Linked DNA regions of Homo sapiens: region 1 is linked to region 2. The links are contacts of gene promoters, found by promoter capture Hi-C in blood cells and fetal thymus (Javierre and others, 2016). All regions are on one chromosome and are shown on one strand. Each heading gives the region's core, a stretch centred on a gene start or on the middle of the fragment in contact. The rest is flanking DNA. Distances are from core to core; before and after follow the strand shown.

Region 1 (5,476 bases), core at 1,461-3,960, 310 kb after region 2:
TCCCCTGCTCTAAAGGCTTCAGGCAGAGGCTGTTCAACCCCTCGTTACAGATGTGGAAACTGGGCCTAAGCTCACGGCATTAATACAGCATGGGACAGGGTTTCAACACATCATGATTGCCGGGTTCTGGGTGAGGAATTGAGGTGCAGCATGACCCTTGAGGAGCTTACCGTCCCAAGGGCAGACAGAGTGTGCAAATGGGGAGGAGTAGCCTGGTGAGTGCTATGGAAACACCGTGTACCGCTTCTCGAGAGCGACAGACTCATGGAGGCTTCATGCCAGGGAGGGTGACCTTGGGAGGAAATGGGTTTTGAAGAAGAGGGGTTAAAGTTTCCCACGAGTGAAGGATGCAGTAAAGGCCGTAGCAGGCCGGGGAGCAGCAGGGCAGCATGGTGCGTTCAGAGTGCAGTGAGGACTCTGTGCAGCTGGGGTGGGGGGCGGTGAGGGTGGAAGCCAGAAGGATAGGGTGGTGTGGGATTGCTGGTGAGTTTGGGGGCTTTATCTCTTGACCCCAGAAACCAACCAGGGAAGTGTTCTGAGCAGGGGAGAGATGTGACTGGTGTTTAGAAGGCTGACTCTGGTAGGATTTGCAGTAGTCCAGGCAAGAAACGACTGCAACTGTGGCAGAATGGAGACGGGGAGACACGGATCGCTTCTTCACATTTTTCATTTATAGTACGGTTATAGTATAGGTTCCTGTTACATAGAGTTTCTAAGAGGACAAGGAGAGCATTTTGAATAATGTTATTGTCACTGTGGTGGGAAGCCACCTGCACCCGGAGTTTGGGTGTAGCCTTGGGTTCTGGGTGGCACTGGGACTTTACATCTCCCGAAAAGCCTGGGCAACCCTTGCTTCTCTATCAAAGGGGATCCTGGCTCTAGGTCCCCAAAGTCACTGTTTACCATAGGGGTCCAGAGAGGCAGGAAGGACCGGTCACCAAAACTGGGACCCTTTGTGTCTGCTGATGGGCAAGTGGCCAAAAATGGGCGAGACCATGGGGCTGGAGCAAGGGGCGCTTTCTCTGCCTACTGGGCCTTTCCTCTAGAAGCAGCGGAAGGCGTTCTCTGGGCTGGAGTTTTCTCACCTGTGCAGTTTTTGGAGCTGACTTGTTTTCCTTGCATGCAACTGTGGGGAGCTGTGGATTCTGTAACATGAAGCTTTGTTTCCTCTGTTGCCCAGGCCCTGCTTAAAGGCTTTTCTGTGAGAACGTGCGAACAGGGAGAATGTGGGCATTCCCCCGAGCCCTGTAGAGTCCTGTCCACACTAAGCAAGTGTGGGACAGGGTGAGGACGGCTGGGGCGGGGCCCTCCCTACCTTCTGGGAGCCGGAGGGTTAATCTCCGTAGCTCATTGGCAGTCCTGCCTCTGTACAGGGCATGCTGGGATTTCCTCCCAGCTGTTTTACATCACGAAGATTTGTGTGTTGGGGAAATTCCAGGGCACAGCTGCAATTAATCTGCTCCATGGCTCCAATCAAAGCAAGGATTCTGTAGGATGGATTCTCCGCCTTCCTGCAGGAAAGGGGGCTCTAGCTCTCTAGTGACAGCATCCTTCAGAGGGACCCTTCCCGAGATCCACGTTGAGCAGAAACAGCCCGCCTGGCCAAGTGCTCGCCCCAAGGAGGGCTCTAAGGAGGGGCCCAAAACATTGAGAAAGAGAGGAGCAGAGCCCCTCTGAATAATAAAGCCACAAGGACACTGATGGCAACACTCGATAAAGATGTCACCCAAAGAAAAGAAAACTTTGTTCACCTTTACTTAGGAATGTAAAAGTCAAAAATTTAAAACATGACTAGCATTCCACAATACAGCGTAAGAAGGAACAAACCACCATGACCAAATAGGGCTTACCTGGGAAATGCAAAAATGCCTTCATGTAAGAAAATCTATTGCTATATATACATCTCATAAATGAGTCAAATAAGAGAAACCACATGACCATTTTGGTAAATGCCGAGAGAAAAATGCAACAACTGCTCCAATGAAAACAATGTAAAAATAGGATTAGAATCATCCTTCCTTAATGAGGTAAAGACATGTTTTAAACCACAGCCTCAGTCTACTTAACTGTGAACCACAGTAGCAGAACCCCAGTCCCCAGAAAAGTGTTTCTCAGATTCAGTGAGATTGGAAAACTGTGTATCTGTCCTGTCTTAGATAGTCACAACATATGTAAATCGAAGACAGTAGTACCTGCCGTTTGGGTTTGGTGTTTTCCTTTCTATTTTTGAGCATCCAAAAGCGGGTATTTAACCCATAGAAAGCACCCCAGAAGTGGGAGCGATCGCTATTGCCAGGCCATCAGTTGCATTGATGCCATTCATCACCATTTCAATGTGTTACATTCCGGTGGGCATCCCCCAGGAGGGAGGTGGCTGGACCAGCCCGTGTACACATCTTCGCTGTGGGCTGAAGCCCAGCCACGACACACTGGTCAGGAGCTGGGCCTTGCAGAGCCAGTTAAATGTAGCCTAGACTGGGCATGGAGAAACCAGCAGTTTTAACCTGCCCACATACCATTACCATGCAAAGAATCTAAGCACAGTCAGCCATCACTTACTTCCCCAAGGACATGCTCCCACCCATGAGTGATTGCCCTCAGGGTGATCGTGGGGTTGGCCTTACAGCTAAGAAGAGCTTTATTGGCTGGGCATGGTGGCTCACACCTGTAATCCCAGCACTTTGCGAGAGCAAGGCGGGAGGATTGCTTGAGCCCAGGCGTTGAAGACGAGCCTGGGCAACGTAGCAAGACCCCCATCTCTAAAAATAAAAAATAAAAATAAATAAATAAACAGAAGCACTTTATTTCCACTCTAGTTGGGCTAGGCCTGATGCTAGGAATTCAGAACTACCTGGCCATCTTCAAATGTCTAGTACTGCAGTGGAAGAGGATTACAAGGGTTGTCACTGGCTCCTGCTGCCCCAATTCACGGTTCTGGGAAGTTCAACTGTCCTTTCCTCAGAGTTGTGATGCAGAGGCCGTCCATGGCCAAGCTGTAGGGGCTCCAAAGTCTTAGAGCTCTTCCTCCTCCCCCCGTCACTCATCTCCAAAACTTAAAAAGACAAATAGAAAAGGGAAAGTCACGATCCTCCACACTCCTGCCTCCCAGAGTGAGTCCCTCCCTACACACCGCCCCTGCACCACCCCAGGCATGGCTGGAGCAGGGTCAGTCCCGGTGAGATGCTCACTGTTCCCAGGACCACCTCTCCCTTCTGGTCTTTTCCCTCACACTGCCTGACTTGTCTGTAAGGGGCCAGGTATCAGTGGTAGGCACGACCAGTGTGGTCTCCTCCCAGCAGAAGCCAAGACTTCTTGTTACATAGATAAAACAAGTACATGGTCAGACACCCAAAAGAGTGGCTGTTACTGAAAACCCTTACTATGAATGTGTGTACAAAATACAAGCATACATAAATGTACCTGTACCTTGATATCCCCAGCACCAAGGCAGACAAACCCTCATGGAGCTTGCAGTCTATTGGGTGCCAGCTCCTTGGCCACTAGAGCAGTGATTCTCAGTTGCGGGAGGGAAGATTCTCTCCCTCAGCCCCAGGAGACATTTGGCAAAATCTGGAGATATTTCTGATGATCTATATGGGAGTGCATCGGCATTTAGTATTATAGTTAGAGGCCAAAGATGTTGTTAAACTTTCCAGGACAGCCCACCACCCCCAATAAAAAAAGTATCCAGCCCAAAATGTCATAGTGCTGAGCCTGAGAAACCCTGCACTACAGTCCTACAAGCCGACTCTGCCAGACAATCTATAAGGTCACTTGAGAGGATTATTTAAGACCCAAAACTCTAGCACCATCCCAGACTAGGGTTTACATTTCTTTGGACCACCCCCATATGATCTAAGGACATCCCTGGTAAGCCAACAAGAATGAATGTGTGTCTTTGTGGCCCTAAATAGGGGGCAGATGCTGGTAGAGTTGATGGATTTTTAGGTACCCATCTATCCTGTTTAATATTAGGGGGTATAGATTTGGGATACTTCTCTTTAGCACCTGGTAGTTGTTATTGTAGTTTAATTTTTAAAACCAGAAATGTTCAAGTTGTTGCTTCTAGAAAAACGAGTGTGGTGTTTAGGCTTCAAGTGCAAGCTCTGGGCACCTTCAGCATCCCTCCAGGAGAACACTGACATGCATGGACCCATTCTGTTTCTGGGTGGCCAGCCCCGTGCAAGACAGAGAAGGAGAGAGAAAACACATCCGAGCAAAGAGAAGGCTGCGGGTGGAGAGTTGAGGAAGACAGTCTTAGGAAAAGCTTCGTGACTTGGTCTTGTGCAAGGTGTGGGATTTGAAGTCCAGAGACCTAGGCTCCAGCTCCAGCTGTCTTGTATGAAGTTGGGGAAGCGTTTAGCCTTTGTTTATGTCCATTAGCTCCTTTTTTTTTTTTTTTTTTTTTGAGACAAGGTCTCACTCTGTCACCCAGGCTGGAGTGCAGTGGTGTGATCTCGGTTCACTGCAACCTCCGCCTCCTGGGTTCAAGTGATTCTTCTGCCTCAGCCTCCCAAGAAGGTGGGACTACAGGCACACGCCACCATGCCCAGCTAATTTTTGTATTTTTAGTAAGAGACGGGGTTTCACCATGTTGGCCAGGCTGGTCTTGAACTCTTGACCTCGAATGATTTGCCCACCTTGGCCTCCCAAAGTGCTGGGATTACAGGCATAGCCACTGCGCCCGGCCTAGCTCCTTTTAAAATTTGGGATAGTCACCCCTACTTGTCATTGCAGGGTTGATGTGCAGATTACACTGGGTTTTGTGTGTGAAAATGCTTTGACAAGTGCAAATGTAGCACAAATGTTATTCACAGTGAAAATGAGTTTTAACTATTGATACCAATATTTGCCCAGTGCTTTTAACTTGCCACAGGCATTGAAATCCCAGTTAATTCATGTCGGGTGTGTGGGCTCTGGGTAGGGCAAGGGATGGGTGGTGGTGGGAAGGGAGGAAGAAGATAGGGTCAGCAGAGGACAGGGACAGAGGTGACACCCCATTTGAGGGCTGAGGGGTGGGGGTACAGAGGTCGCAAAGTGAAAAGACTGTCCTAATTCATAGGGCTTCGTTCCCACTTCCCACCAGGTCTCCCGCGCCAGGCCTGCTTGGCCCATCCCATGTGCTAGTCTGGCCTGTGGCACGTGTGACCTTAAGTTGTTGTTCCTGCCCATGGACACCTTTTTGAAAGCCCAGTCAGTCCCTGCCATCTTGGTCAAGACTTATGGTGAATGAAGAGCAAAGGGGCCTTCTGGGGCTCTTCCCATCGCCCTCCTGCTCCTGTACACAGCAGAGCCAGATTGTGATTGATTTTTCCTGATATTACATGACCAGAGTGAGGGATGATTCAAAGGCTTCTTTTTTTTTCTTTTTTGAGATAAAGTCTCACTCTGTCGTCCAGGCTGTAGTGCCATGGCACGATCTTGGCTCACTGCAACCTCCACCTCCCAGACTCAAGCGATTCTCCTGCCTCAGCCT
Region 2 (5,068 bases), core at 964-3,463:
CCATATGGCAGGGCAGCAAGCAAAAGGTTGTTTTAAATTGAACAGCCTGACCGCTAAGTGAATGAAGGTCATGAAAACCCCAAATAACCATAATATTTCTGCTTACTCTTATTTAAAGAGGAAAAAAAATGGTTTAGTTACTCTCTCCTTACTCTTGCCTGACTGAAAAAAATGAAGTAACTGTCGAAAACAAAGTTATCTGTTTAGTTAGCTAACCCTCTGCAAAACCAAGCAAATGAAATCTCTATATTTACTCTTAGTCCCTCCTGCAGTTCAGTACTGTTGTAGGCTTTCCTATCTGCTCCACCATTTTATCAGACTACAGCACTGATAATGCCTTAATCTCTATACAATTTATTTATAGACATCACTTACCCATCAGGAGACAATGGGATCAGCGTTGTTCTCCCCATTTTTACAGCCCAAGAAATTGAGGCTCCTGATACCCAGGATCACATATGCCAACACCGTAAAATGCTCAGAAAGGCATCGACACAGAGCTTTACTTAATACCCTTCTTTCTACTCCACCACACCCCATTTACGGCCAGGTTGGATCTCTTTCTACAAGAGAAATGGAATAAATTTGTGCAGGAGCTCCATACAGGCAATAAAAATATCTCTGGTGACAAAGTCCTCATTTAAACTCCAGTTTGTTTATCACTAGTTACTACCAAATACAGTCCCTTGGGAGTTCTGAGTGACCCAAAACCTACTTCCTGGACTTCAAGATGAGCTTTTAGTTTCTTTGAAATCAGGAAGTGTCTTAAAACCAGATTCAATGAAATACGGTAACAATCTTTTTACTGTGTCCTGTGCTAGGTATTTTATATGCATTTTAGCACTTAACCTCCAAACCTCTTATTATTAAACCTCTGTTGTTACGTCCATTTTAAAGATAGAAAAGTCAGGGCACAGAGAGGTTTAGAGATCACACAGCCAGCAAATGGTGGACAGTATAAGAGTAACCTCAAAGCAAGCAGTACCCCAGATTCCAATTTCAGTTGACTTAGCCTGGTAACAGTTCAATTTTATGCAAAACCCACAACTTCAAATGGAAAAAGATAAATTAAAACAACCACAAAAACCAGACAAATGGAGGCTCAGCAGGCCTTGTAGCTCATCCACGGTTACACAGAGGATCTCAGAGCCAAAATTCCATGGCCGATCCGTCTTGACTTCAAAGCGCGATCTATTTCCACCAAACCACGGAACCATCGACACGTGGTAAGGGGCAGTACAAAGATTTGTTGAATTAATAATGCCTGAAAACAAATTGACAATAAGAAGGTAAAAATGGAAAACACAGATAAAATCGGAAAAGCAGACCACTTTCAGGAAACAAAAAACTCCAAATTTTCAAGGCAGGGCATTCACGGTGAGCCAAGGCGCTGGGACAAAGTTTGCGCGGGTACCGCCGGACTCCCGGGCTGCCCGGCGCGGAGTCTTTAACGGAGATGGTTCGCAAGGAATCGGCCTCGGAGCCCGGCAGCCTCCTGGCTTCCCTCCTGACCACCAGTAACCCGGCCGGGAAACACTGGCGAAGACCGGGGGCCAGTCGCCTTCCCTTTCTGGGCTGTTGGCTTAAAATACACACAAACACAAGTCCCCAGGCGGTCCGCGGCCTCTCAGTGGGGCTGGAGCTCGCTGCCCGAGGCCCGCCCGGAAGCCATGCACCTGCGGACAGGAGTCTCTCCGAGTCGCAGCTCGCCGCCGAGAAGCACCCACCTCCCGCGGCCGGCGCAGCCCAAGGCCCTGGCCCCTATAGCCCGGCCTAGGCCCGCCCCAGGCGGGGCTAGGGGCGGCGTGGCGGGCGGGCGCCCCTCGGGCCGCGCCGGTGAGCAGCGGGAGCCGGCGCCGGGCATTTCCTCTTCCTCCCTACGCGCGGCGCGGCGGCGGCGGCGGCGGCCAGGCCGAGGCTGGGCACGGGCGCCCGATCGCGGCCTGCTGGCTAGCGCGGGCAAGCGCCGCGCCCCGAGCCGCCGTCGCCGCGTCGCCCCCGTCGCGACCGCCGGCCGCGGGGCCTCCGGGCGGCTGGGCCCGGCGAGGGCAGCGAGAGGCGGGGCTGGCGTGCGGGCGGCGGAAGGAGGCGGAGGAGGAGGAAGAGGAGGAGGAGGAGGCGGCGGCCGGGAGCCGGGGGAGAGGGGCGGGGGGTGGGCCGGGGGAGGGGAGGAGCGGGATTTGCGGAGCGCCGCGCCGCTGCCGGGAGCCGGCAGGCCCGAGAGTGACCGGAGTCACGGCGGGCGCCGGCGGAGCTGCGGCGTCGGACCCGCCTCCTGGAGGAGCTCAGCCCCGACCAGGCCCGGCCCCATTCCCGCCCCGCGCCGCCTCCCCGCCGCCGCCGCCGCCGCCGCCGCGGGAGCGCTCCCCTGCCCACCCCGCCCCCGCGGCCGAGCCCGGGAGTCGAGTGGGAGTCGGCCGGCCGGCGCGGGCAGCGCCGGGACCCCGCGGGGGACACTGCAGCCGGAGCCCGGGAGGGGCCGCGCCGCCACCGTCTGAACTAGGATGTCCCGACATGAAGGTGAGAGGAGCCCCCGCCCCCACCCGCACCTCCCGGGCCTCGGCCTACCCCGCCCGGGCCGGGCGCGGCGGAGGGCGGCCGGGAAGCGGCGGAGACTTTGGCCGAGCCCGAGCCGGGCCCGAGGCGCTGGACCCGGGAGCGAGCGAGCGAGGGCGGAGAGCCGCGGCGCCGCTGCCGCCACGGCCGCGGCCCTTAGCTGGGCCTGGTGCTGGAGGCGGGGCGGCCCGGGCGGCCGGAGGGTTTGCACTGTCATGGGGCGGAGGGGGAGGGGAGGCGGCGGGGCCCGTTACCGGCGGGAGCTCGGCCTTCGGGACTGATACCGGACGCCAAGGCCCGCCCGGCCGGTTCAGGAGCCGCGGGCCCCAGCGCGGCCTAGCGCTCCCGCCGCCCCGGAAGAGCCCGGTGTGGTCGCAGAGCCGGGCCGCGGGCGGCAGCAGGAGGCAAAAGAGCCGGCCCGGGACCCGGCAGGCGCGTCCGGTCGCCGGGAGACGACGGCGAGTGTCCCCGCCTGCGGGCGACCGCGGGGCTGGCGGGAAGGCTCTGCGGCCAAGGGACGGGAAGCCCTCGCCGCCTGGAGCCCGCCCCGGCCTCGCGGCTAGGCCTCGGCGCGTCCCTGGGCTCGGGTAACCAAGTTCCCGGGGTGGATCCGACCCCGCCGCAGCAAGCAAACTCCCTGCTCAGTCACCCAGGCGGAGCAGGGCTCGCTCCCCGCGGCCCTGGTGCCCTCGCCGGCATGTGCTGCCTACCAGACCAGGTTTTGGAAAATGACGATGGTGAGGTCTGTTCATGGTCGGGGGTCGTTTTGGACCTTGTTTTGCCATTTTAAAACACGATTGGAGTACAGTTGCAAATAAGCAGACAGCTCTAAGCCCAGTCCCAGGGCACAAAGAGACAAATGTTTAGGGTCGATGTATAGGCTTTGAGCTGGTAAGAAATAAGTTAACTTTAATTTATTGCCATATGGTTTAGAAAAGGAGGAGGGGGTTGTGTTTTCTTTGTTTCACTACTACAGGTTTTTGGATAAAAAGTGTTAAGAGTCTTGGCGAAAAGTTTGTCCTGCTAAGGTTAATACAAGATTGTAGAAGTGGCTTGAAAGTTTGTGTACTCCGGATTTTAAAATCCTGTATAGGTGATGTAGGAGTGGAGAAAGTTTAGTGAGTCAGTTTAGTGTGTGCTTAGCACTATGGGAAGGATATTCTTTGGGAAATACGGACCTTAGAATTTCAAGGCTGAAAAACTCAGATTGATTAAAATTGTATTTAGAACAAGTTTCAAAATTCGCATTACTAATTGCGACGTTGAAATTGACTCAACATTCTGTGTTCAACGATTCTGTATTTTAAAAGTTACAAAACTAATATGAAATATACTATATTTTCTTCGCAAAGCATTTGTTGAGTACTTACAGTGTTCAAGTGTTGGGCATTTTGAAATAATGAGGTACCTAGCCTCATTGAAAGGGACACAGAAGTAGGAAGCTATGCCTCTTTTCCCCACTTCGTCTGCTTAATCGAAATGTATCCTTATCTCTGTAATTTTAAGAACTCGTAATTAAAGTTATAATCAGTTTTCAATTTGGGATATTAAAGTTTATCTTAAACTGTAGTCCTGTGTACATTGACCACCTTCAAGACAAAACAAAAGTGAGCAATGGCTGCAAGCTCTCTTACTCTTGAAAACTGGGAGGGTTAGTTAGAGAATCACAGCCATGGAAGAGTGTTTCAGACCCATTCTCCTTGGTCTAAGAAAGCATACAGATAGTTCCAGACGAGCATTCTAATTGAAGTGTCCTGGGAAGAAAATTCCTTCACCCCCAGTGCTCTGTTAGAGTAATTAAAATCTCATATTTGGAACATTCTTGAATGTAACATATATTCTGTAATTTAAGCCCATTTCCCCCCATTTGGTGCTGTGCAAAGGTGTGTGGTTATGAAACTTATATTACCTTTTAGTTACTTGAATATTGCTGAACCTCAGCACACTAGTAGCACACCTTTCCTAGTAACTTATGTTAATGTCAGTAAATAGAACATACCTAATGAAAAAGGAACATACCTAAATACATCTGTTGAAGACTTATAGTACAATATTCGACAAGTGATTCTCTTTCAAGGGTCTAGTTTATGGCCTAAGACAGGAATAGCAGTCTCACGAATCACATTTAACTCATTAGATACATATTTTGTGGAATATTAGTTCAGACTGTCATTATTGTCATCAGTAAGACTTTGACCTATCAGTAAATACAGTGTTTGGCACCCTTGCTATTAGTTCTTTTCTTACCTTTGCCTTTTTTGGGCCAAAGAATCCCATTTCTTTCAGCATTTCTTTCTTTCTTTCTTTTTCTTTATTTCTTTCTTTTTTTTTTTTTTTTTTTTTTAGCTGGAGTCTCACTCTGTCACCAGGTTGGAGTGCAGTGGCGTGATCTCGGCTCACTGCAACTTCCACCTCCCAGATTCAAGCAGTTCTCCTGCCTCAGCCTCCCAAGTAGCTGGGATTACAGGCGCCTGCCACCACACCCATCCAATTTTTGTATTTTTAGTAGAGA

Evidence for each region. The method cuts DNA at HindIII sites, captures the fragments that hold promoters and counts their contacts. A CHiCAGO score of 5 or more calls a contact.
Region 1: a fragment that was not itself captured here is called in contact with the fragment with the promoter of KCMF1 in region 2 in 2 of 17 cell types (M1 macrophages and M0 macrophages); the score reaches 7.1 in M1 macrophages.

What each region holds. Positions count from the first base shown.
Region 1 is chr2:85,276,634-85,282,109 of GRCh38, forward strand. The region is part of intron 3 of TCF7L1 (transcription factor 7 like 1); the gene reads left to right. Among named protein-coding and RNA genes, the nearest start is that of TGOLN2, 49 kb to the right of the region's middle. The HindIII fragment of the contact is 3,109 bases long and covers 1,157-4,265 here.
Region 2 is chr2:84,968,948-84,974,015 of GRCh38, forward strand. KCMF1 (potassium channel modulatory factor 1) reads left to right here and starts at 2,214. Exons shown (of 7, transcript NM_020122.5): 1 at 2,214-2,520. The coding sequence starts at 2,505. RefSeq lists an enhancer at 1,141-1,220 and silencers at 1,719-1,968, 1,999-3,088. The HindIII fragment of the contact is 10,310 bases long and covers 1-5,068 here.